Regions from separate parts of the Homo sapiens genome. Here regions 1, 2 and 4 are each linked to region 3. Evidence: promoter capture Hi-C in 16 types of primary human blood cells and fetal thymus (Javierre and others, 2016). All regions are on one chromosome and are shown on one strand. Each heading gives the region's core, a stretch centred on a gene start or on the middle of the fragment in contact. The rest is flanking DNA. Distances are from core to core; before and after follow the strand shown.

Region 1 (6,220 bases), core at 1,885-4,384, 230 kb before region 3:
ACTAAGCGACAGGCAGGACAAAAAAATCTACATGATGGATGGCAAGAACTACGTAAGCAAAACCTCGCACACAAAGTCTTTGCCTGGAAAACACAACTGAAAGAAAACACAGCAGAAATGTCATCTGTGAATGGGCTGATCTGAGTGGGAAGGCTATAGGTAATTATTTTCTTCCTTCTACTTTTCTGTGTTTTCCAAATGTTCTCTAATTACTGCGTACTGATTTTATAAGGCTATGAATGGGAATAATACATTTTAAAATGTCACAAGAGGAAAAGGGAGGGTGCTGGTGCTTCTCTTCTAGCAAAGGGAGAAAGGTCCAGGAGCCCACGGTAGACGTACTATTTGGAGCCGATCCCTGCTCAGGCCGCCATGCCCAGCCTCACCACTAAGGTCGGCTTTGCTGGTTACTCCATCTGCCCTGCTGGGTCTTTTTTTTTTCTTTTGAGACAGGGTCTCACTCTGTTGCTTAGGCTGGAGTGCGGTGGTGTAATCACGGCTCAGTGTAGCCTCGACCTCCCAGGCTCAAACGATCCTCCCACCGCAGCCTCCTGAGTACCCGGGACCACTGCCACACACAACTACACCCAACTAATTTTTGTATTTTTTGTACAGACAGGGTTTCACCATGTTGCCCAGGCTGGTCTCAAACTCCTGGGCTCCAGCGATCCACCCACATCAGCCACCCAAAGTGCTGGGACTGCGCCCAGCCCCTGCTGGGTCTTTAGATGGAGCAAAACCTCACTGATTCCAAAGGCAAAGATGCGGAAAGGAAGAGAGCAATTTCATAAGGTGGCATTAAACTCATTTTGCTGACGGGTGTGGGATGGGTTGGTTGGTTTGTTAAGAACAGTGTGTGTCCATCTATCCATCCATTCAAGAGTATCGAGTACCCACTAGTTACCCAGTATGGTGCCAAGGCCCTGCAAACAACACAGAAATGAATGACCCATCTCCTACCCTAAAGACCTCAGATTCAAGTGGGGGCCAAAGATATCAAGTTGCAATGCAAAAGTGTCTTTGACAAGGGTTTTCAGATACACACAGGCTGTGAGAATTCAGATATGAAAATTAAAGCTTCCAGCTTCAGAGAAAAGACGGGTGTCGGGAAAGAGTTCATGGAAAAGATGAGCTTTGAATTGGGTCTTGAAGAATGACTGGGGTTGCACAAACAAGTCAGTTAAACAGGCCAAGGAAATATACATGTTTATCTCAAAGGAAAGTTACCTCTGCCGGCAACCATAACAAACCTCCCACCTTAATAATAAGCAAGGAAATACAAAATGGAAACATATGGGCAGATGTTTGGCAACATTGGCAGAGGGACTCCCCAGTGTGGCTGTGGCAGGAGCATGGCAGGAGCGTGGAGCGGCATCGCCCCCCTGGAGGGCAGCAGAGAAACAGGATGATGCAACAGAAGCCTCACCAGGTGGCCCTCACCCCTTGAGCCAGACTCCACTTCTAGGAATTTATCCTAAAGAAACAATTAAGTGTAAGCATAAGCCTATTCACGGAAGTGTAACTTAAAATAGCCAAACATGGGGAAGTAGGTAACTACATTCTGGTGTGTCAATCACAGAACACTATGAGGCAACTTTTTTTTTTTAAGTCCCTTTTAACAGTGTACTTAATCATATGAGGCAATGCCCATAATCTTCTAGAAAGTTAACAACTCAAGGTAAGAAAACTACATTTGCAGTATGATCTTCACATATCTTTTTTATTTTAATTTAAGGCATTAATTTTCTTTTTTCAACTTTGAGGTCAATTTCTATTTTTATAGCAAAATTAACATCTCAAAATGTAAACACTGGAAAGTTTTATTATTTACTTTTTTGTATTTTTAAAGAACGGGTGTCATTTTTATAATCATAAAATGTTATCCAAACTGAAAGAATAATAAATGGAGTTTTTTTATCCAATAGGTTTTTGGGGAACAGGTGGTGTAAGTTTTGTTTTGGGATTTTTGTGGTTTTTTTTTCCAGTAGAGACAGGGTCTCTCTTGTCACCCAGGGTGAAGTGCAGTGGCATGACCGTAGCTCACTGCAACCTCACACTCCCAGGCTCAAGCAATCCTCCCACCTCAGCCTCCTGAGTAGCTGGGGTTACAGGTGAACACCACTATACCCAGCTAACTTTTTTTATTTTAATTTTTGTAGAGGCAGAGTCTCACCATCTTGCCCAGGCTGGTCTCAAGCTCCTGGGCTCAAGAGATCCTCCTTTCTCAGCCTCCCAAAGCACTGGGATTACAGACGTGAGCCACTATGCCTGGCCCAGAAATGGAGTTTCAATAGGAAGAGAAGAGGACATCCTCAGCTTAAAAAAACAGCAGGAGCCAGAAGTGAAGAAGTACAGGTCTCTCCTGGGAAGGAGAAAGAACTGAACATCATGATTAGACAGAGCTGGGCTCACATACTGGATCCACTCTTTTCTAGCGGTGTGACCTTTAACAAATTACTGATCCATTCCTGAGCTTCAGTTTCTTCCAAAGACCAAATGTGTTAAAGACTAAACGTGTTAACTTGGCCAGGCACAGTGGTTCACACCCGTAATCCCAGCACTTTGGGAGGTTGAGGTGGGCAGATCACCTGAGGTCAGGAGTTTGAGACCAGCCTGGCCAACATGGTGACACCCTCTCTCTACTAAAAATACAAAAATTAGCCAGGCATGGTGGCACGCACCTGTAATCCCAGCTACTCAGGAGGCTAAGGAACAAGAATTGCTTGAACCCCAGTAGGCAGAGGTCGCAGTGAGCCGTGATGGCACCACTGCACTCCAGCCTCGGCAACAGAGTGAGACTTCATCTCAAAAATAATAAAAAACAAAATAAATGCATTAACTTACACAGAATACCTACTCGATACACTAATTAGGTCATAGCCTTTTCTACTGACCAATAAAACAAATTCCATCCTGGATGACCCACAAGAGGTAGGGATGTTCATTTATGAGACACATAATCAATGTAATAACAGCATTTGGGGAGAGCAAAGAATTACTACATTAAAGACATCGTACAAAGCCTCCCAATTTCAGAAATATTAAACTATGAAATATATCCTAAAATCAAGAAACTATGAAAATTTGTGTCTTCTAAAGATACTGCTGACCAGGATAAAACATTTGGTGAAAGCCCAAGATATTATTGTTTTTCTCATGATTCTTATACAGTCTGATTTGTGCCCCAAACAAGAAGTCAGGCCGGGCATGGCTCACGCCTGTAATCCCAGCACTTTGCGAGGCCAAGGTGGGTGGATCACTTGAGGTCAGGAGTTCAAGGCCAGCCTGGCCAACATGGTAAAACCCCATCTCTACTAAAATACAAAAATTAGCCAGGCTTGGTGGCTGGTGCCTGTAGTCCCAGCTACTCGGGAGGCTGAGGCAGGAGAATCGCCAGGAGGCGGAGGTTGCAGTGAGCCAAGATCACGCCATTGCACTCTAGCCTAGGTGACAGAGCAAGACTTTGTCTCAAAAAAGAAAAAAAAGGGGGGGGGGGGGGCGGGTGTGCCACTGCAGTGTCTCCTTTTGTTATCCAGGCTGGAGTGCAGTGGTGCAAACATGGCTCACTGTAGCCTTGACCTCTTGGGCTTAAGCAGTCCTCCTACCTCAACTTCCCAAGTAGCTGGGATTACAGGATAGCTGGCGGCCAGGGGAAATATAGTGGAAAATGCAAAACAATGAAATTATAAAACCTGCCAAATACTTCTCAGAACTAGAAAAGAGTACCCTGCTGATTTTAGTAGAAAAGTACAAATATGTGCTGGAATGTAAGAAAAGTGATGTGTGAACTATTGCCCTTAAGCAATCAATGTACCTGCAGGCGCTGACCCACGAATGCAACTCTCAGCCGAGCTGTCCCTGCCGGATTTCAAACAGCTGAAGAAGGGCTGGGAGAACATCAAGGCTTGGACTAAAACAATTATGGCCCATGAAAGGAGAGAGAAGGTGAAAGGGAGCGTCAGCCCCCTCCTGAGTAACCAAGTCCTAGGGAAGGAGATCACCAGCATGCTGCTGGAGCAGCTCTACTTCCTGCAGAGCACTCCTTCCACCCCTCCCCCCGGAGGAGGAGCCCAAATACCACGCCACGGCCCAAGAATCATTTGCTGTTTCAAATAGAGAACTGTGCGATGATGAGAAAGAGTTCATACGTTTTCCAACACGTGAGAGGACCTCTCAACCTGAACCCTCGTGTTCAGCTGTCAGAATAACAGCCAATAAAAACTACATGAGCAAAATCTCTCAGGAAGGTGCTTTAAAAAAGATGCACGAGGACTGAACATGATCAACAAATGTCCATCTTACAATTGCAACTGATACAAATGAATGAGGTGCATTGTGGCCAAAATCCAGCAGACAGAGCGAGAGTGTGAGATGGCAGAGGAGGAACACAGGATAAAAATGAAGTTCTCAATAAAGAGAAGATGTATTGGGAAAAAAAACTACAAACTTTTACCAAGGAATGGCCTGCTTCCTCATTTAACCGGCCCTTTCCCAATTCACCCTAAGACTTTGGGGGTGGCTCTCTTGTAATTAATTGTGTTGGCAAAGAATGTCTGGAACATGGACTTGCGGTCAGTAACCTGTAACAGAGCGACAACTAGGAAAATTTGAGTGGTAGTAGTCACTAACTTAAGAATTCCTTCAGGGAAACAGCTGCACCCTTTGTACCCCTTAAGTGGCAAAGAAGCTGTTACAGTCTTCTGAAAATTATCACCATGAGTGCTATAATTCTGAATGTAATGTCTCTTAATTAGAATTCATACAAGAACCATGAGAGAGAGAGAGAGAGAGAGAGAAAGAAAGAAAGAAAGAAAGAAAGAGAAAGAAAGAGAGAGAGAGAGAGAGAAAGAAAAGAAAAGAAAAGAAAAGAAAAGAAAAGAAAAGAAAAGAAAAGAAAAGTTAGTTGCAGTTACCGAACAGATCTGGATGCCATAGGGGCAAGGCCCCACCTTCCACGCAAACTGTTCCAAATTGGAAAGGGCTCTTTTCATTCTCCCTATAGCACACCTGTATTTCTCCAGTTTGATGTTTAGGGAGAAGATTTACACAAATGTCTGAAGGGCAAATCTTGCTAGACTACCCGGGGTGTCCTTGGCCCCAACTACCTCATCCTCTTTCAGATGAAGAAGGCACCAGGAACACCAAGGTCAGCTGCCTGAAGATTAAGCAGCTGCAACCTGGAAAAGCTTAAGGTTTAGAGAGAACCTCTGGAAACCTTTGGAACCTTTGGGAAAAAATGCAAACTCAGTGACCAAACTGTAAGGGGTGGAGAGCTGTATCCTCTCCTAAATGCCAGGCTTTGGGAAACTCAAGATAAGCCTTCAGAGGAGACCCAGAAGGCTCAGCTCATTCCAGTACTACATATAATCAGCATTTAATCCTTACCATGGTTCTTAGCCATGTGTCAGGCCCTGTTCCAAGCACATTACATGCGGTAACTCATTTATTCTCTCCAACGAAACTGATGCACAGAGGCAACTTGCCCAAAGCCAGAGCCAGAACCAACCCATGCAGTGCCTTTGTGCAAGGTGAAAGAGTGCATCCCATCCTCTGCACAGACACAGCACAGACCCACAAAAGGCATATTCCTGGCAATAGGGGCAGTCTGGATTTAAGGAACCCTTCACCCCCTTGTGCAGTGCACAACCTGCTTGACTGTACACAGCCCTGTCCAAGTTCACACAGTAAGTAAGAGGCGGAGCTGGAATCTGAACCCAGGCCACCTGGCTCCCAGGTCTGCTACCAAGTAACAAGCAGGCACAGTTTCATATTAAATAAGTGGCCTGCAAATTAATGCAACTCAAAATATACAGAAGGACTGATGCGGGTGACTGAGAGCACAATTCTGTGTGTCTAGAATGATCACATTTTCAGTAATGATGAGACAATGCTCTGACATTTACAACTTCATGGGCATAAGATTTTTTCTTTCTTACCATTTCTAATGGGAATATTTCTAAAATGTGCCCCACCGTTTTCCACCTTACAGCATAATGTAATATAACCCTGCTTGAACTCCACACCACCACTGCCACTCCAGGAACCCAGAGCCCCCTCCCTGCCTTTTCCTGCCGCTCTGCCTGCAGCCTTCTAATCCTGGGTAATCTCTTTTTCTCTGCTCCTATAATTGCTACTGGAGAAAACTCAATGTGCAGGTGGGTTGGGGACATCCAAAGTTTTAGGTTTTGACCTACTTCCTCTGGCTTAGCAGCTCTTTGAT
Region 2 (6,190 bases), core at 3,660-6,159, 250 kb before region 3:
AGTCCTAGCTACTTGGGAGGCTAAGGTGGGAGGATCGCTTGAGCCCAGGAGGTCAAGGCTGCAGTGAGCCATCATCACACCACCGTACTCCAGCCCGGGTGACAGAACAAGACCCTGTCTCGGGTAAAAAAGAAGGCTTTCCTGCCAGGGTGGGGTCAGGGAGTTGGTAATTGCTAATATGGAAGACCTGCTGGTTTGGGGAGAATGGGTAACCTCCCACCTAGGATGCTTCCAGCGAAGAATCCAACTGCCTGGGTTGGGATCCAAGGGCTCAGTCACACCCTAGCTCTGTGACCTTGGACAAGTTACTTAACCCCCTATAAAAGTCTCCATCTTGTCAAAGGTCTCCATCTTGTCCTCCAGAAAAATGGGGATAATAGAAGCTGACTCTCAGAGAGACGGAAGAAATGACGCATTTGGCACATGGTGAGCACCACAAGTGTAGCCATGACCACTGAGCAGCAGCAGTATTGGCCAGGGTCCTGGACTCGGATTCCCAGTAGGCTTTCAGGGATCCACACCCTGAAATGTATGCAAATTTCAGATATGCAAGTCTGTGTATTTTCTAGAGTTATTGTCCAAAGCTTTCAAAAGACTCGCAAATGGCTAAAACTTCAAATAAGAAAAGCTTACACAAGGACAGCCTGACTTGGGTAAACCCGACAAACACTGGGCTCTGGCTGGGTGCCCAGCATTGGACTGGGGAACACGGGATACAGAGAAGCACAAGGAGGGCATGGCCCAGTTCTGATGAAAAATAAGGGACTCGCATTCCCAACAGAGGCCAGTTAGGCTCGACAGATGGAAACGAGCTCACTGCCAGAAGACCAGGGAGTTGCCTGGCTTGGCTACGGCCAAGTGACCCAGGGACCCAGGGAGAGCTCCTGAAATGTTGCTAAGACTCTGGTGGCCTCCTAATGGTGACTTCCAAGTGTCCCCCCAAAATAAGTACCACCTTCACAGTCTCTTACAGGAACCTGTCTTCTGGAGACACTTCTCAACCCTGCTGTCCCTCATGGTTGTGGTGTTAATTCATTCCTTTTCCTTTCATCTGTAAATATAGGTTGTGCATTTCGAATCCAAAAACCCAAAATCCGAAACGCTTCCAAAGACCCAGAAGCTGAACCTCTCCAAAATCTAAAACATTTTGAGCACTGACATGATGCTCCAAAGAAATGCTCACTGGAGCATTTTGGATTTTGAACTTTTGGGTTTGGGATGCTTAGCCATTAAGTATAATACAAATATTCCAGAATTCTAAAAAATCCAAAATCCAAAACACTTTGGACCTCAAGCATTTCAAACAAGGGATACTCAGCCTGTATCTCACTATATTTTTCTTTTTTTTTTTTTGAGATGGTCACCAAGGCTGGCAGGCTGGGGTGCAGTGGCACGATCTTGGCTCACTGCAACCTCCGCCTCCTGGGTTTAAGTGATTCTTGTGCCTCAGCTTCCCAAGTAGTTGGAAGTATAGGCGCATGCCACCATAAAGGGCTAATTTTTGTATTTTTAGTAGAGACGGGTTTTCGCCATGTTGGACAGGCTGGTCTCCAACTTCTGACCTCAGATGATCTGCCCACTTCTGCCTCCCAAAGTGTTGGGATTACAGGCATGAGCCAGCACTTTCGGAGGCTAAGGTGGGCAGATCACTTGATCTGAGTATAAAACAAAACACTTAGGACCACTGCACCGGGACCTTAGCACATTTTTCTAAAGAGCAAGGACTCTTGTTAACAGAGTCACAATATTTTACGAAGAAAAAAATGATGAATTAATAATTTTTAATTTCAAATATCTAGAAAGGCTCCAAATTTTCAATTAGAATAAAAGCTTATAACCAGTTTGGGGCCATAGACCCTTTTAGAAATCTAGGGAGGCCCATGATCTCTTTCAAAGAACAATACTTTCATTTATTTCTTTTTTTATCTTTATCTTTTTTTTTTTTTTTTGAGATGGGGTCTCACTATGTTGCCTAGGCTGGTCTTGAACTCCTGGGCTCAAGCAATCCTCCCACCTCAGCCTCTCAAAGTCCTGGGATTACAGGCGTGAGCCATCGCACCTGGACAGAACAATACTTTGAAATGTATAAAACGACACACTTCGAATTATAAAGGAAATCAATTCTATTTAAACACATTTATCAAATTACTGAAAACTGTGATAGACAGCCAGTCATGGTGGCTCACGCCTGTAATCCCAGCACTTTGGGACGCCAAGGCAGGTGGATCACTTAAAATCAGAGGTTCGAGACCAGCCTGGTCAATATGGTGAAATGCTGCCTCTACTAAAAATACAAAAATTAGCCAGGCATGGTGGCACACGCCGGTAATCCCAGCTACTCGGGAGGCTGAGGCAGGAGAATCACTTGAACCCAGGAGGCAGAGGTTGCAGGAAGCCAAGATCATGCCACTGCACCCCAGCCTGCCAGCCTTAGTGATCGTCTCAAATAAAAAGAAAAAAAAGAAAAATATATTGAGATACAGGCTGAGTATCCCTTGTCTGACTGCACTTCAGCCTGGGTGACAGAGCAAGACTCTGTCTCAAAAACAAAACAAAACAAAACAAAAAAAACCTGTGATAGAGTCATAAAAGCTTCTTTATTAAAGTATTAAACATCCAACAGTGCATCTAATAACTGCCATAACTTTAAAGTTGTGACAAGTGGAAACTGCTTTTTCAGATAGCTCCACAACTGTGATTCCTACTGGTGACCGAGTCACAGGTGTTTGTTAAGATAACTGTGCCTCATTGCCTACAATCAAGTGGAATGACATGCTAAATTCCAGTTAAGGTTAATGAAAATAAAAGTGCAATTTTCTTCCCCATCTACGTTCATCGATGGACCCCCTGAATTCTATCCACAGACGCCAGGTCAAGAACTCCTGTGGCTAGAGAGATGTGAGCATGAAATGAGACCCATAATAATGAAACCACTGCTACCACATCAGCGTTTTTGAAATTTCCCCCAGAAAACTAGTTTGGCCCCAGGCTCACCAACAATCTGACAGAGCCAGATTCAACCCCCTTGGGGTTACTTACCCCTCTCCCATGGCCCCTGCTCCCTTCAGGGTACTAGGGGCTCAGTGGCAAGTGCAGACAGCTGCTGGAGAGGGAGCGCTGAGTCAGAATCAAAATAATTCCACACTCTCAACTGTACAGTTTTTATGTCTGATGAAACCACAGACCCAGAGGCTGATCCCCTGACATTCCTGCACCCCATGCCCCTCAGGTGCCCAGAGCAGACCCTGCTAATCAAACACACTGCTGAGGTTCAGGACTCTGAGTCTACTTGCTGTCCTATTATGGAACCTAAGCCCTGGGGAGCACCTACAGAGCATGAAGCTCACAACCGTAGACACACGAGTGAGCTTTTATCCTACAGGTCTAAGAGGATGCACTCATGTGCCCTATCCTGGCTTACCCCACTCTGATCCATCCCGCCCAGTGAGACCAGAGGCAAATTCCAAAACCAGGGCTCCAACTTCCCCCAGCCCCCCAGCTCCGTTCCATAGCCCCTGGCCCTGCCCACCAGGCACGCACTCACCCAGCAGCTATTCCTCCAATACCTGCTGGAGTTTCCTACCCAGGCCAAGTCAGAGTCCGCCTCTCCCCTTCCTGGTGTGTTGTGTGTGACTCTTTCAGAGCCCTGATCATGGAGTTACTATCATACTACAGTTAACAGCTTCTGCCTCAGTCTCCCCCAATAGACACGAGCTCCCAGGCTTCTGAGTTGAACACATCTGGGTTCAAATCCACCATATACTAGGCTGCACTGCCCCAAGGAAGATAATTAATTTTTCTGAGTCTCAGTTCACCCACCTGTAAACAGGAACGATGACACCTAGCTCATATTCAACTACAGCATGGAGACCTCCAAAAGACTAGGTTAGATCTCCCTATAATTACACATCAGTGCAGGGACCGTATTTCCCTCATATCCCCAGTTCCTACTACAGCACCTGGCATAAAACATATGCTCAGGAGTGCCAGAGGAAGAAAATGTGTGGTTCTTATCCCCATGTTTCTCACAGCCAGCCCTTCCCTCCATTCCACGCGGCTCTGAAACCACCACTTCAAAGGGCTGACCAGAGACAGGACTATAAATCAAACAGCTGTGCAAACTCAAAACCACTCTTTTCCACATTAACTGGAGAGGTCAGGCTGCTGGCACTAAAAGCAGCAGCACTAGAGCCCTTCTGTCACTGGCACATGGCCTTCAAGGGTCCTGCCTCTGGGAGTGATTCCTAACATATGCCATTTGCACAAGACTTTCGCCACCACAGGCCAACATTGAGATTAGCCCACCTGGCCTTAGCCTGAGCCAGCGTTTGGGCCTTCCCCAGTCCAGCCTCCCCACAACCTGCCTGCCCTTTTCAGCTTTGAGGCACTCGGTCCCCTGCTAAGCAAGCTCTTCCCAGTGACTCTCCGCCTACAAGGATCAGCTCAGACACCACTTCCTCCAGGAAGCCTTCCTCAAGCCCTCCAGCCCCCTGCCCAGATCACATATCGCAGTTCTGATTTTTCACGCTTGTCTGCTTCCCTCTTCAGGCTGGAAACTCTGGGAGGTGGGGGTCCAGCTGGTGTTCTTGGTCACCAGCAGACCTCAGGAGCCAGCACAGCACCCAGCACATGGGCTGCTTTTTCTCTTTTTTCATAATAGAGATGGGGTCTTGCCATGCTGCCCAGGCTGGTCTCTAACTCCTAGGCTCAAGTGATCCTCTTGTGTTAGCTTCCCAAAGTGCTGGGATTAAAGGCATGAGCCACCACACCTGGCCTGGTTTGCTATTTTAAAACCTTTGTTGAAAGGATGAACACACAAACACAATACATTGTGCCAGACAGGCACACAAAGTTTATCAAATGGCAGCGAAAAACAAACACCAACTGGGCAAGTGATGAGACAGGGGTCTGAACATCTCAAAAGCCAGGACAGCTTCCCTAGAAGAGGAGCAAGCGGTTTCTTTTTTTAAAGGCCGGTAGAGATCCCCGCTAGACAGCCCAAAGCAGGCCCATGGGTAGAACTGTGCAGAACTTGAAGTGATTCTTCTTTGCACCCAGATAACCCATAAACCTGGCTAGCTGTGCCTGAGACAAGGAAAAGGGAAGACATGCAGTGCAGCACGACCCAGCTACTGGCAGGTCTGGTGTCCTGGCAGCTGCTATCTCCCAGAACTTGTTAAGAAACAACCTCTACAGATTTGGGTTCTGCTGATGGAGCAAAACTTCTCTGGTTGACAAAGGATGGAGGTGGCCTACAGGCAGCCACTCCCGTCAGAGTGAAATGAAGCTGCTCTCACTTCTTGGAAAGTTGGTTGCAGTCACAGAAGCGCCAAGGGGCTACTTTCCCAGACAAACCACAGTGGGGCCTGCTAGCCCAGCCCTGGGGGCCTAAAAGGGGACCTTTCATTGGTAGCGTCATTTTCTCTTAACCACAAAACCGCAAGATATAAATTTTCCGGAATAGACAAGCACCTGGGGTTTCAGGGATGGGACCAGCAGCAAGAAGGAAAGAGTCATTACGTCTCTGGCCACAGGGGAGGCCCTGGGCTGGAACCAACATCTCTCACACCCCAATATTCTTTTGCTTCAAGAATGTACTGTGGGCCCACCCCAGCCCTGACCAGAGTCTGACTTACAGAAAGAGAATAGTATCAGGTCAGCCACAAACAGTTGGTGGGTGCTACCGATACTACAGCAGGCGCTCACTAAGTATCTGGGGCCGAAGGAGCTCAGCTCTAGTCCCAGCTCTAACATCTAAAATCAAAGATCTTGGGGAAATCCCCCTTGGCTCAGCTTCAGTCTTACCACCTATAAAAAGAGTATCATTTTATGGAGGTTGAGGCCAAGTGAGTTGCCGTATACAAAGTGCTTGGAACAAGCAAAAAACAAACCACGGGTCCTATCCAGCCATACCTAGGAGTCAGTGTGGCTCCATGAAGGACATCTCTAGCCCTAAAGTCCCTTGACACCACTCCCTTGGGTGAACATAGCCATGGGATCTAACCAGTGAGCCTCACTTTTCCTACCTGTAAAATGGGGTTGATCTACCTCAAAAGGCTGTTGTGAAGGCTTACATGAGAAAAATATGAATGCAAAGTGCTCAGCAAAACGTGTGGAACACAGAAAACACTCTTGCGGCGGCAGCGGACGTGGGTGGTGTTCTTCTCAGGCGAAGCCGACAGGTTCTCTC
Region 3 (6,442 bases), core at 2,740-5,239:
CCCAGGCTGGAGTGCAGTGGCATGATCTCCGCTCACTACAACCTCTGCCTCCCGGGTTCAAGCAATTCTCCCTGCCTCAGCCTCCCGAGTAGCTTAGATTACAGGTATGCACCATCATGATGCCCACCACCACGCCCAGCTAACTTTTGTATATTTTAGCAGAGACGGAGTTTCACCATGTTGGCCAGGCTGGTCTTGAACTCCTGACCTCAGGTGATCTGCCCACCTCGGCCTCCCAAAGTGCTGGGATTACACGCATGAGCCACCGTGCCCAGCCTAGACTGTATTTTAAGGTTACTCTATATTTTTCTTCTACCTTGACCACAATCATGGAACTCCTTGTGTATAGTGGTAATAGGACAGGCACACTGGTAATCCCAACACTTTGGTAGGCCAAGGTGGATGGATCACTTGAGCCCATGAGTTTGAGACCAGCCTGGGATAGATAGGGGACCTCATCTCTACAAAAAATTTAAAAAATTAGCGAGTGTGGTGGCATGCACCTGTAGTACCAGGCTGAGGTGGGAGAATTGCTTGAGCCCAGGAGGCAGAGGTTGCAGAAAGCCAAGATTTCACAACCGCACTCCAGCTTGGGTGATAGAGCAAGACTCTGTCTAAAAAAAAAAAAAGAGTAGGCCGGGGGCAGTGGCTCACGCCTGTAATCCCAGCACTTTGGGAGGCCGAGGAGGGTGAATCACCTGAGGTCAGGAGTTCCAGACCAGCTTGGCTAACATGGTGAAACCCCCCATCTGTACTAAAAATACAAAAAATCAGCCAGGTGTGGTGGCACGAACCTGTAATCCCAGCTACTCGGGAGGGTGAGGCAGGAGAACTGCTTGATCCCGAGAGGTGGAGGTTGCAGTAAGCTGAGACTGCGCTACTGCACTCCAGCCTGGACGACGGAGCGAGACTCAGTCTCAAAGGAACAAAAAAAAAAGTAAAAGAGCGGTAACAATTACTAAAAAATTGGTTCAAATAGATAGCAAAGACAATGAAATAATAACATATTTATAACATAATTCTCAAATATATACAAACTCAAGAAATAGAGCCATTATAAAACCTACCAAATAAATGCATTAATCTGTTAAAATTTACTAATAATTGCCTTGTGTTTCTTTGCTGGATAACAGGTATATCAAATTGCCTTTGGCACTTTAATAAAATGATTTAAGTGCTCAGATTAAATACTGGTACAATTTTATAAACCTAGCACAAAGTTTGTAATAAAGTGCTTTGAAAAAAAATTTTTAAGTTAAACCTTTATTACATTATCTGTAACTGTTTAATGTTAGCAACAGAAATGTATGATTTAATGACCTTATTAAGGGAAAGGCTGCCATGGGAAATCAGCCGTAAGATACAACACTACATTATTAATATCTGTAAAACAGTAACATACCATCTGAGTCACTGCTGAACCAAGCAAACCAGATTTAGCTCCTTCTTTACATTCCTCCCCAAAATTTCATAACCAGAAAGGGATGATCTGTGGCAGTGCCTTGTGAAAAAGGGCAGTAGCTCAAGGCAGTAGTATCACAGAATTATTTAATCATTCATGGAAATCTTGCCTCTACTCTCCGTATGTCCTTGAGAAACTAAACTTGGCTTGGCTTTTAATTAACACCCAAGAAAAGAAAAAAAGTAAATCCTTATTCATAGATTTAAAAAGCTACGCAGAGAAATGTTCAACCTTGTATCCAAATGATAATTCAAAAAAAGAAACAAAGAAAAAAACTGGGGTTAAAAAAAGCTCAGAAAAAGCAAAAGTTCTTCTAGATATCTGGCACTTAGCTAGTAAGTTTTTATAACGTATCCAGGAAATAACACTGAGACCTAAATATGAAAAAAAAAAAGAAAGAAAAGAAAAGAGAAATCAGGGGGCTAGTGGGGGAACACTTAGTGGATGGTTCTACTTTATGTAGGTATGCTATCCATCTCTATCCATCTCTTAGAAAACAAAACCGGAAATCTGGGCGGGGTGGCTCACGCCCGTAATCCTAGCACTTTGGGAGGCAGAGGTGGGCGATCACCTGAGGTCGGGAGTTCGAGACCAGCCTGACCAACATGGAGAAACCCCATCTCTACTAAAAACACAAAAATTAGCCGGGCGTGTGCATGCCTGTAATCCCACCTACTCAGGAGGCTGAGGGAGGAGAATCGCTTGAAACCGGGAGCCGGAGGTTGCAGTGAGCCGAGATCGTGCCATTGCACTCCAGCCTGGGCAACAAGAGCAAAAACTCCATCTCAAAAAAAAAAAAGAGAGAGAGAAAACAGGACCGCAAAGTTTTCAAAATGGTTTATCAGGATGAAGTAAAATACAGATTTAAAAAAAAGGCAGATCACTCGTCTATAACATTATGGTGTACTAAAGTAAAAGAAAAACCCACTGGACTGATAAGAACTTTTGAGTTCTTTGTCCCACTTCGCGACATACTTTCTAGTCTTAAAATACAGTTAAAATAATAACTGGACACAAATTCTGTGTTCTTTGCATCTTTTTTTTTCTTTTTTCTGTGTGAACTCTGCTACAATTTTTTCCCTTTTTTTTCTGTGTTTGTATCTTTAAAAATGGTTATTAAAACCAGGGTTAAAGTCCCTTCCTAATCAATCATCCCTAAGACAACAAAAGTCCAGAATTCTAAAACAGCTGTTTCTAGATATAAAAATTCACCCACATACAAAATAGTGCGCGTTTTGGCTACTTCAGCCTCTTCCCTTCTCTAGAAATAACTCCTCCTTGTACTTAGTAAAGGCACACATTCACTTCAAGAGTAGGAAAATGTAAATGCTCTCTGCTCAGCGGCCGCAGCTAATTATTACTTCACACAGTAAGATCAGTGTTTGCTAAGTGTTATCAGCCAATGTACAGCACCCCCCAACACCGTCAAACGTTGTTCCAGTTATTTTACTTTAAAAGAGGATTTAAATAATGCGACGTGCTTTCCACTGAGCCACTAAGTAGGTGTGGACGCACAACCTTCAACACTAATTGCCCTTTACTAAGCCGACCAGGGCTAGACACTAAGCCAGAAAAGCCTTTTCCAGAGTTTCCTCTTCCGCACAAAAGCTTTCCTTCTGTCACTCCACCCAACCACCCAGCTCCTCCCTTAAGTGTTTGAAAGATAATTCTAAAAGTCTCCTCCCCCGAACCGCTGCGTTTCTTAAGGCCACACCATTTTAAAAATACTGTATTGCTTTTGCCAGGCTGTTGGGACCTCTTCCATCTCATTTCTATCTAAGAGTGGTTGGTACACACGAGGACCCCCTCCTTTCATTACCGCTTACAACCCACAAGTTTACTTTTCCCCATTGTAAACCTAAAGTCCCTGAGTGGCCCTTCCCTGTCCACTCGACAGTCATGCCCTGAGCCAAGAACTCCCAGGACAAGAGCCCTGCGCGGACCTCCGACGAAGAAACCGGGGTCCTTGCCCGCCCCAGCCACACAGCAACCGCGAGGGAGCACAGTAGGTGCTGCATCCACGTCGGTGCCGTTTACCCCTCAGCCAACTCCCACCGAGGCGGCTTCCTCCTCCTCGCTAGTGGGCTGGCCCTGGCGCACTGGAGCTCTTCCCTCAGACTTGGAGTCGCTTCCTCCCAAACCTCCTCCGGGGAGTCCCTGCCTCTCCTCGGCCCTCATGCGCCCACCCACGGTCCCAATCCTCACCGATCTCTTTCTCGTTGACCCTCGGGGGAAAGCTGGCCATCTATGGGGCACCGTCTGATTCCGGGAATACGATGCGGACCCAACAACAGAGAAGAGAGTGGCGACCGCTGAGGGGCGTGACGCCAAGTTGGTCCCTCCCGGGCCCAGGGACAGAGGAGACGGGCGGGGGCGGCCGCTGCGGCTTCTGCTAACTGCCTCGGGAAAGCTCCCGAAGGCCTCAGACCAAAGTACGGAGTCAACCACAGACAATAGACCCTGTACCCAGCCTCGCGCCTGCGGAGGAAGACAGTTCCCCTAAAGCGCCGACTGCAAACGAGACACTGGAGTCAAAATGGCGGGCGGCGCCGGAGATATCTGGGCGGCAGGGGCGCGGCCACGTGACGTCACAGCCCGAGGCCCCCGCCTCCCGACGCACGGGACGTGATCTCCCCGGCCCGGCGCGGGCGTTGCCTGGGGGCCTCGCAGGGGGAGATCCAGCCCAGGCTGGTTCCGCTGACTCTGCCTGTAGGCCGGTGGCGTCTTCTGGGCCTGGATGGTCTAATATGGAGTTTATAAGCTGAAGTGGCTTTGAAAAGGGCAAGCAGAGAATTGTATTATTATTAGCCTCCTAGCTTAAAGATTGCATGGAACTTAAACTGGCTGAACCAAAAGAACAAAAAGACATTTCAGGTTTTCACTCAATTTGGCCAACTCCCCAGCCCACAAGTAATAGGGAACTGAAGGATGCACTGATGAAAAAGACAGGATGAAAATTAACATCGTTGTGCACCACCTGTCCAGCTGCGATTGTTCAGACCTGAGCCAGCAGGTTTTAGGAAGGGCCGAGGGGAACGAGAAGGAGACTCGGGCGTGATCGCGCCGCACCGCGCCGCGGGGCCTCTCTGGACTGCCTTTGTCCTGGCCAAGATGGATCCCACTGTCCTGGCCAAGATGGATCCCACTGTGTCAGCTCAGAATTGGCCCTTCCTCCACCTTACCTGAAGGCCTCTGGGAGGCACCTAGTTGTCCACACATCAGACTGATAAATGTGTCAGTATCTGCTAGATGCCAGCTTGGTTCCCGGTCACAGATGACGTATTTGCATTTTAATGGCTTCTCGTGTGGACCCTAAACATTGCAAAGGCCTGGGGCGTATAAGACTGGGAATTCAAATATGTGGCAGATATTCATGGGACAGAGTAGAGTGTTGCATAGCCGCTTTTTTTTTTTTTTTTTTTTTTTTTTTTGAGACGGAGTCTCGCTTCTCCCAGGCTGGGGTGCAATGGCGTGATCTTGGCTCACTGCAACCTCCGTTTCCCGGGTTCAGGCAATTCTCCTGCCTCAGCCTCCCCAGTAGCTGGGATTTGTACAGGCATGTGACACCAAGCCCGGGTAATTTTTGTATTTTTAGTACAGAGGGCGTTTCACCCTGTTGGCCAGGCTAGTCTCGAACTCCTGGCCTCGAGTGATCCGCCCGCCTCAGCCTCCCAAAGTGCTGGGATTACAACGTGAGCCACCACGCCCGGCTGCATAGCCGCTTTTAAGAGATCTCAAATGATAACACTGTAGGGCATGTTTACTTCATCTTTTCTTTGCATGAGTGTATTAATTCTTCAAATAGCGAAATGTTTAATAAAACATCGCCCCTCCTTTTTTTTTTTTTTGGTTATTTATTTATTTTTTTTTTTGAGACGGAGTCTTGCTCTGTCTCCCAGAGCAGAGTGCAGTGGCGCCAACTCGGCTCACTGCAACCTCTGCCTCCCGGGTTCAGGCGATTCTCCTGCCTCAGCCTCCCGAGTAGCTGGGACTACAGGTGGCTGCCACCACGCCCAGCTAATTTTTTTCATCCTTTTAGTAGGGAGGGGGTTTCACGATATTGGCCAGGCTGGTCTTGAACTCCTGACCTTGTGATCTGCCCACCTCGGCCTCTCAAAGTGCTAGGATTAGAGGCGTTAAGCTACTGCGCCCTGCCTGCCCCTCGTCTTTAAAAAAAAATCACTTTGTTAGGCTGGGGGCGGTGGCTCACGCCTGTAATCTCAGCGCTTTGGGAGGCTGAGGCGGGTGTCAGGAGTTCGAGACCAGCCTGGCCAACATGGTGAAACCCCCATCTCTACTAAAAATACAAAAAATTAGCCAGGCGTAGTGGCGAAGTCCCAGCTACTCTGGAGGCTAAGGCAGGAGAATTGCTTGAAACCGGGAGGCAGAGGTTGCAGTGAGCTGAGGTTGCACCACTGCACTCTAGCCTGGGTGACAAGAGTGAAACTCTGTCTCAATAAATAAATAAATCAATAAATCACTTTGTTAGCTTCAGTCAACGATATCTTGAGGACTCACTCTGTATCAGGCACTGGGCCTAGTTGCTGAATTTTTAGAGTAGAACAAAAGAAAAACTTTAATGCAGTCTTGTAGCTCATGTACCAACATTCATATCAGTCTGAGTTAATTCTTTTAACCAACTGCTATTATCCCTGTTACTTGTACTATACCATACAAATTCATGGGAAATACCAGTTTTTGAGTGTCCAACAGTGAATTATTGTGATGACTTTTTCTTTTTTTTTTTCTCCCTGAGATGGAGTCTCACTCTGTCGCCCAGGCTGGAGTGCAGTGGCACGATCTCGGCTCACTGCAACCTTTGCCTCCTGGGTTCAGGTGATTCTCCTACCTCAGCCTTCCGAGTAGCTGGGATTACAGGCACACGCCACCATGGCTGGCTGATTTTTGTATTTTTAGTAGAGACGGGATTTCACCATGTTGGCCAGGCTGGTCTCAAACTCCTGACCTCAAGTGATCTGC
Region 4 (6,266 bases), core at 3,596-6,095, 180 kb before region 3:
AGATGAAGAGAGTAATACCGGGCAGGTGCCAGCATGATCTCCTGCCGTGGGAGCTCTGTAAAAGCTGCTGGATGAATAAACATGGCTCACCCACCTGACGCCCTCAGTGAGTGGCAGAGCCTCAGCCTGCCCCGGGCCAGCGCTCTGTCACCTGCCCACGCAGTCAGAAAGTGACTTTCTGTAAGTCAGTAGGTTAGTGTGCCAGCCCCAAAACTCCATTTTTTAGTAAGACATAAGTTTCAAAATCACCTGTGGATCCTACAGGATGGAGGCAGAGCCCACATAAACACAGCACCTCTCACCACCTTCTCTTCTCATTACTCTTCCCTCCTTCACACCTGTGCTCAGAGACCCGTGAGTGCAGTGGGTACTGGAAAGCAAGCACCTCCCTAAATGTCATGCCCAGGGCCCCTTGTGGCCTCACCCCTGGCCCCAGGGTTTTCCAACAACCCTGGTTCACTCCCCTTTGGCTTCCACATGAGCTCAGCTTCCAAAGCTCTTTTCCAGCTGTATCCCCATGGAGCCCTTCTCTACCCTTTTGAGGTCTTTACTCAAATATCACCTCCTCTGCAAACCCATCCTGACCCCTCACTTTAAATTATACCACCATCTAGGCACCCCTCCCTGCTTTCATTTTCTCCACAGCACTTTTACCACTTAACAGATAACACATTTTCCTTAGTGTGTGTGTGGTATTTTTAGGGATGGGAATCTTGCTATGTTGCCCAGGCTGGTCTTGAACTCTGGCTCAGGTGATCCTTCTGCCCCAGCCTCCCAAGTAACTGGGATTCCAGGTGATATTTACTTGTCATCTGAATGTCTCCTCCCAACACTGAAGCGTAAGTTCCACAAGGTCTACATTTGTGTCCATTTTGTTCACTGCTATTTTCCCCAGAGCTAAGAATAGTGCCCAGTCCCTAATGGGTGCTAATTAAACACTTGTCGATAAAATAAATAGTAATATTATAATATAAAAATATTCTCATTCTGCACAAGGCATTGTGCTTTTCCATGGCTCATCTTACTTACTATGAAAAACGACCCCATTATAATCCCCATTTCACAGATGAGGAAACTATTGCTCAGAAAGGGTAAGCAACTTGCCCAAAGACACACAGCTAGCCAGAAAGGCAGTGCAGCCTGAATCCAGGCTGTCAACCACCAGAACCTGTGCTCTTACACAGCATGAGGTGCTGCTCATCCTCCCATCCTTACATCCAAAGATAGAAGCCACCCATGGTCCAGCAGAGCTTTATAGTAAGAACAGCAGGTCTGACTTTTGGAACATAAGCATTGCCTGGCTTGCAGCCACAGGGTGACAGGGGCCTGTTTGCTATAACAAGTAGCACTACGGCTTTGACAAGCTGGGTGCTAAGATAACAAATCCTGCCAGACCAGGAAACTGCTTAAACCAAACAGGGCCAGAGAGGAAGTTTGGCCTAAGCTGTTAGATGCTTGAGACAAGGTCTGGTCATTTGAGGCCGCCTAAGTCTTCTTCTAAGAATAGTCAAAAGCCCCCTCTGGTTTAGGGGTCTAGGAGGGAGGGATGCAAGTGAAGGAGTTTCCTCTAGACACATGGCCGATCGCAGCCCACATGGCTGGCTGTACACAGGTATTGTGAGTAAACGAGGTCTTTGGCTTTTGGTTTCTCTTTTTCTTTTTTTAACTACTTCCTAAAACTCTCAAAATTGTCAAAGATGCAGCTGGAAGAGTGGCCTGGGGTTTTGTCTCAAATGTTCACCTCTCCTCATAAGCCACCAGGCCAACCACACAAAAAAAGCTTCCTGTCCCCTAAAAAGACAAGTTTCCATTCGTTGATGGATTCTTCCTTGTTCTGTTCTGTCCCCTGTGCCACGGTGAGTCATGGCCACCACAGGGACTCTCCCCAGGGACTCGTCACCTTCTTTCTCCTAAAATGTACCACCAGTATTTAAAATACCGCTGTGCCTATCACCATCACACCCAAGCACTACCTGCTATGTTGCCTTTGTAGCTAGAACCCTTCCAAGCAGAGGCAAAATTATTTGAGGTGATCAGATAAAGTCCTCTGCCTGCCTGCTGCCCAAACCCCAGCCCTACAGGCTGCTCCTCACAAGGATGCCCCTCTCCCACCTTCCTGCTCAGCCAGAAGCCCCCACCTCTTGCTTTGCAGCCTCCTTTCTGCGAATGGCCACCTGTTAATCCAGATCCCCACGCTCTGTTACTTCATCCTGTCTCCAACTGTGAGGGACTCCCATTCCAATGATGCGAAAAACGAGACTGCCAAATCCATTTCCACCCAGCATTACTTCTTCTAAAATGCTAAGCATCACCAAAGCCTTGTATTATCTCTTTCTGCCCTGAACAAGACCCAAGATCAAGCAAATTTCTAAAGAGGGCAATGAAATGAACACAAATGGAAATTCAGACAATTCAGCTCCACCAGTTACTGTGTGACTTTGGGCCTTATTTCATCACCTACATGGGCTCATAAAGTTATCATTACTGAGAAATTAACTGAGAGAACTGCTGTCAGAATCTTGCTGCCTTAAACCTGGGTACTAGCTGGGCATGGTGGCATACACCTGTGGTCCCAGCTATCTGGGAGGCTGAAGGTGAGCCAGAGAGGTAGACAGAGGCTGCAGTGAGCCATGATGGTGCCATGGAACTCCAGCCTAGGAAACACTGCGAGACCCTGTCTCAAAAAACCTGGGCAGGTCCACTTCACATTAGCCATAACTGTGGGAGGAAGGGATAGGGCCCTGAGTTATTACTGATACATTCCCAGGATTCTGGCCTTCCATTCCATTTTTTTTTTATTTTCATTTTGAGATGGAGTCTCGCTCTGTTGCCTAGGCTAGAGTGCAGTGACATGATCTCAGCTCACTGCAACCTCCGTCTCCCAGGTTCAAGCAATTCTCCTGCCTCAGCCTCCTGAGTAGCTGGGATTACAGGCACCCACCGCCATGCCCGGCTAATTTTTGTACTTTTAGTAGAGACGGGGTTTGACCATGTTGGCCAGGCTGGTCACCTGACCTCAGGTAATCGGCCCACCTCGGCCTCCCAAAGTGCTGGGATTACAGGCATGAGCCACGGGGCCCAGCCCACTTCCCATTTATTTAATAGCAACAAGCTTACATGCAAGGAACCCAAGGTGCTGGTTAACCCTGGTCAAAGGAGGCCCCTAATTCAATGACATCAGAGCCCCCCGGGGCTTATGAGTCATTCAGCCTCCTCCAAACGAAATGGTGCCAACATCTTCCACCAGGCTATTTCCAGGCACTCTCATGAGGTCCACACCTCGCTATGTGAGTACACTCTAGACTCCCAGAAGCATCTGCTCAATCTCATAACCCCTTCTTTGCCCCATCCTACGGGAAGAAACCCATGAGGAGCACAATGTCCCCAAATCTACATTCCCAACCAGAGCCACAAATCAGAGTCCGCAGTCAGGGGAGAAAGGGTCAGGGCAGGCAGCTCAGTAAGAAGGGGGTTTCCCATGGCTGTCTCTTGGTCTTGTTTCCCATAACTGGGAGCCTAGACACTCATACCTAGTATCAGCAGCCCCACATCTGAGCTGGCAACCTCAAGTCTGAGGACCCCTTCCCTGGCAGGGGTCCAGGTGCCCCCAAGCAGGCCGGGACTGCCAGGCTTTACATCAGAGAACTGAGTTTCAGTTACCACGGTGAAGGCTGACAGCACAGAGCACAGTTCCGTGCAAATCAAGACACATTTCCCAAGTCCCTACACACCTCAGTACAGAGATGAGTCAGCTGCGCGGCCTGATGAGCCTTCATTCACACCTCACCAGCACCTTCTATGAGTTTACTCATCCACAAACTCCCCCACTAAGCTGGCTTTCTGGAGCACAATACATCTCTCATTCACTCTTATATTCCAGAACAGTGCCTGGCACGAAACCCGGCCAGGAGGGCGGAGGGGGAAGTAGGAGGACACCTGTTTGCTGAGTTGGTGCATTAATTCTCTCCTGCGGCCCAGCACTGAAAAAACAGCCCCATGCCCCTGCTTACCTCCTTGACCCCAAGGCCAACCATCCTCCCCTGACACTGTGTTCCAGGCACACCAGCCTCCTCCTGGCCCTTGACCACACCAAGCTCGATTCTGCCTCAGGGCTCTTGCACAAGCCAGTCCCTCTGCCGGGAACACTCCTCCAGGCTACAGTGGCCTTCTCATCTTTCAAGACTCAGCTCAAAAGTCACCCTCTCTGGGAAGGCCTTTCCCGATCACCCCATCTAAAGAAGTCACCTCTTCCATACCCCCACCTCTCTCTAACCCACTTCCAGTTTTCTTCTGAGAGCACGTCTGTCTGTTTGGCATGTGTATTATCTTTCTCTTTCCACTGAAGGAAGCCCTCTATTTTCTTCCTTGCTCCTTCCTCAGTGCCTAAAACAGTGCCTAAAACAAACCTGATATTGAGCAGATGCTCAATAAATCGTCACTGGAGTGGGCCCGGCACGGTGGCTCACGCCTTTACAGCACTTTGGGAGGCCAAGGTAGGGAGATCACTTGAGGCCAGGAGTTTGAGACCAGCCTGGCCAACATGGCAAAACCTGTCTTTACTAAAAGTACAATAATTAGCTGGGTGTAGTGTGCGTGCCTGTGCTCCCAGCTACTCAGGAGGCTGAGGCACAAGAATCGCTTGAACCCGGGAGGCAGAGGTTGCAGTGACCCAAGATTGTGCCACTGCACTCCAGCCTGGGGGACAGGGTGAGTCTCTGTCTGAAATTTAAAAAAAAAAAAGTCACTGAATGAATGCACAGAAGAGAGAAATAGCAAATTCAAGATAAGGAATATCTAACAAGGTCAAAAAATGGGGAGAATAAAGGAGAGAAGAAGAAAGGTACAAAGGTCAGAAAGAATTGTAAAAAATATGAGATACTTACCCAGGAGTACAATTTTTAAAACAGCTATCATTCAACAGGAGTTAAATGGAGGGGCTAGGTGTGGTGGCTCACGCCTGTACTCCCAGTACTTTGGGAGGCTGTGGTGGGCAGATCACCTGAGGTCAGGAATTTGAGATCAGCCTGGCCAATATGGTGAAACCCTGTCTCTACTAAAAATACAAAACTTAGGCCTGGCGCAGTGGCTCACACCTGTAATCCCAGCACTTTGGGAGGCCGAGGTGGGTGGATCACGAGGTCAGGGGTTTGAGATCAGCCTGACCAACATGGTGAAACCCTGTCTCTACTAAAAATATAAAAATTAGCTGGGCGTGGTGGCGGGCACGTGTAATCCCAGCTACTCAGGAGGCTGAGGCAGGAGAATTGCTTGAACCCGGGAAGCAGAGGTTGCAGTGAGCCGAGATCGCACCACTGCACTCCAGCCTGGGCCACAGAGCGAGAGTCTGTCTCAAAAAAAAAAAAAAAAAAACACAAACAAAAACAAAACTTAGCTGGGCATGGTGGTGTGCACCTGTAATCCCAGCTACTCAGGAGGGTGAGACAGAAGGATCACTTGAATCTGGAAGGTGCAGGCTGCAGTGAACTGAGATCACACCACTGCACTCTAGTCTGGGCAACAGAGCGATACTCCGCCTCAAAAAAAAAAAAATGGGAGAACAGTTTGGCAAGTCTTAACACACACACACACACACACACACACACACACACACACACACTCCATCTCCATGCTCTTTGATCCAGTAATTCCATTCCTGGGAATTATCCCAAGAAAACAAATTCAGAATAGGAACAAAAATAAAGCGCCTATATAAAGACGATTCCATTCACATTGTTTATAATTGCAGAAATCTAGAAACTACTGAAATGTCCAATAACACGGAAAATGCTTTGCCAAATTACAGCAGATCCACTAGACACACTCTCATGTGGCAACTAAAATGACCAAAAGGAAGATAATAGGGAAACATGGAAAAGTGTTTTGGAGTAATGCTACGTGAAAGGCGGGGGACAGTGGGGGAAACACTGAACTCCTTCTAAGTACCAGGCACTGTCCAGCACTCCTTCTGTATCTTGGTTCTCAAAAGAATCCAAAATTAACCTACTCTTATCCCCTTTTAACTAACAAGAAAACTGAGGTCCAGAGAGCTAAAGAACTTGCCCAAGGTCACAGAGCTGGCAAGGAATGGAGTCAGAATACGAATATGTCATCCTCACCCCAGAGTCCCCGCACATCCTGGCGCCCTCAATGCACGCCTCAATGTCCTACCAAGTGCTTGAGGGGCTCTTTCCCATAGTGACATCACGATTGTGTTGTGGAGGCCAAACTCAGAGACTGAAACAGCCAGCAAAAAGTGACTCGGCACC

The links. The method cuts DNA at HindIII sites, captures the fragments that hold promoters and counts their contacts. A CHiCAGO score of 5 or more calls a contact.
Region 1: a contact is called between a fragment that was not itself captured here and the fragment with the promoter of WSB1 in region 3, in 1 of 17 cell types (monocytes). The highest score is 6.7, in monocytes.
Region 2: a contact is called between a fragment that was not itself captured here and the fragment with the promoter of WSB1 in region 3, in 1 of 17 cell types (activated CD4 T cells). The highest score is 5.4, in activated CD4 T cells.
Region 4: a fragment that was not itself captured here is called in contact with the fragment with the promoter of WSB1 in region 3 in 2 of 17 cell types (activated CD4 T cells and naive CD8 T cells); the score reaches 6.0 in activated CD4 T cells.

What each region holds. Positions count from the first base shown.
Region 1 is chr17:27,524,671-27,530,890 of GRCh38, reverse strand. All of the region lies in intron 1 of KSR1 (kinase suppressor of ras 1), which reads right to left. It also overlaps the pseudogene MSANTD3P1. Among named protein-coding and RNA genes, the nearest start is that of KSR1, 71 kb to the right of the region's middle. The HindIII fragment of the contact is 4,109 bases long and covers 1,080-5,188 here.
Region 2 is chr17:27,543,989-27,550,178 of GRCh38, reverse strand. All of the region lies in intron 1 of KSR1 (kinase suppressor of ras 1), which reads right to left. All of the region lies in intron 1 of LOC124903960 (a long non-coding RNA gene), which reads left to right. Among named protein-coding and RNA genes, the nearest start is that of LGALS9, 84 kb to the left of the region's middle. RefSeq lists a silencer at 5,639-5,698. The HindIII fragment of the contact is 4,629 bases long and covers 2,595-6,190 here.
Region 3 is chr17:27,291,661-27,298,102 of GRCh38, reverse strand. WSB1 (WD repeat and SOCS box containing 1) reads right to left here and starts at 3,989. Exons shown (of 9, transcript NM_015626.10): 1 at 3,668-3,989. The coding sequence starts at 3,707. It overlaps MIR4522 (microRNA 4522), which reads left to right and starts at 4,107; the gene lies at 4,107-4,193. RefSeq lists enhancers at 3,711-3,770, 3,781-3,840, 4,211-4,260 and a silencer at 3,961-4,170. The HindIII fragment of the contact is 5,795 bases long and covers 3,073-6,442 here.
Region 4 is chr17:27,469,345-27,475,610 of GRCh38, reverse strand. The region is part of intron 1 of KSR1 (kinase suppressor of ras 1); the gene reads right to left. Among named protein-coding and RNA genes, the nearest start is that of KSR1, 16 kb to the right of the region's middle. RefSeq lists enhancers at 1-210, 1,624-1,953, 1,974-2,023, 2,245-3,009, 3,010-3,774. The HindIII fragment of the contact is 3,461 bases long and covers 3,115-6,266 here.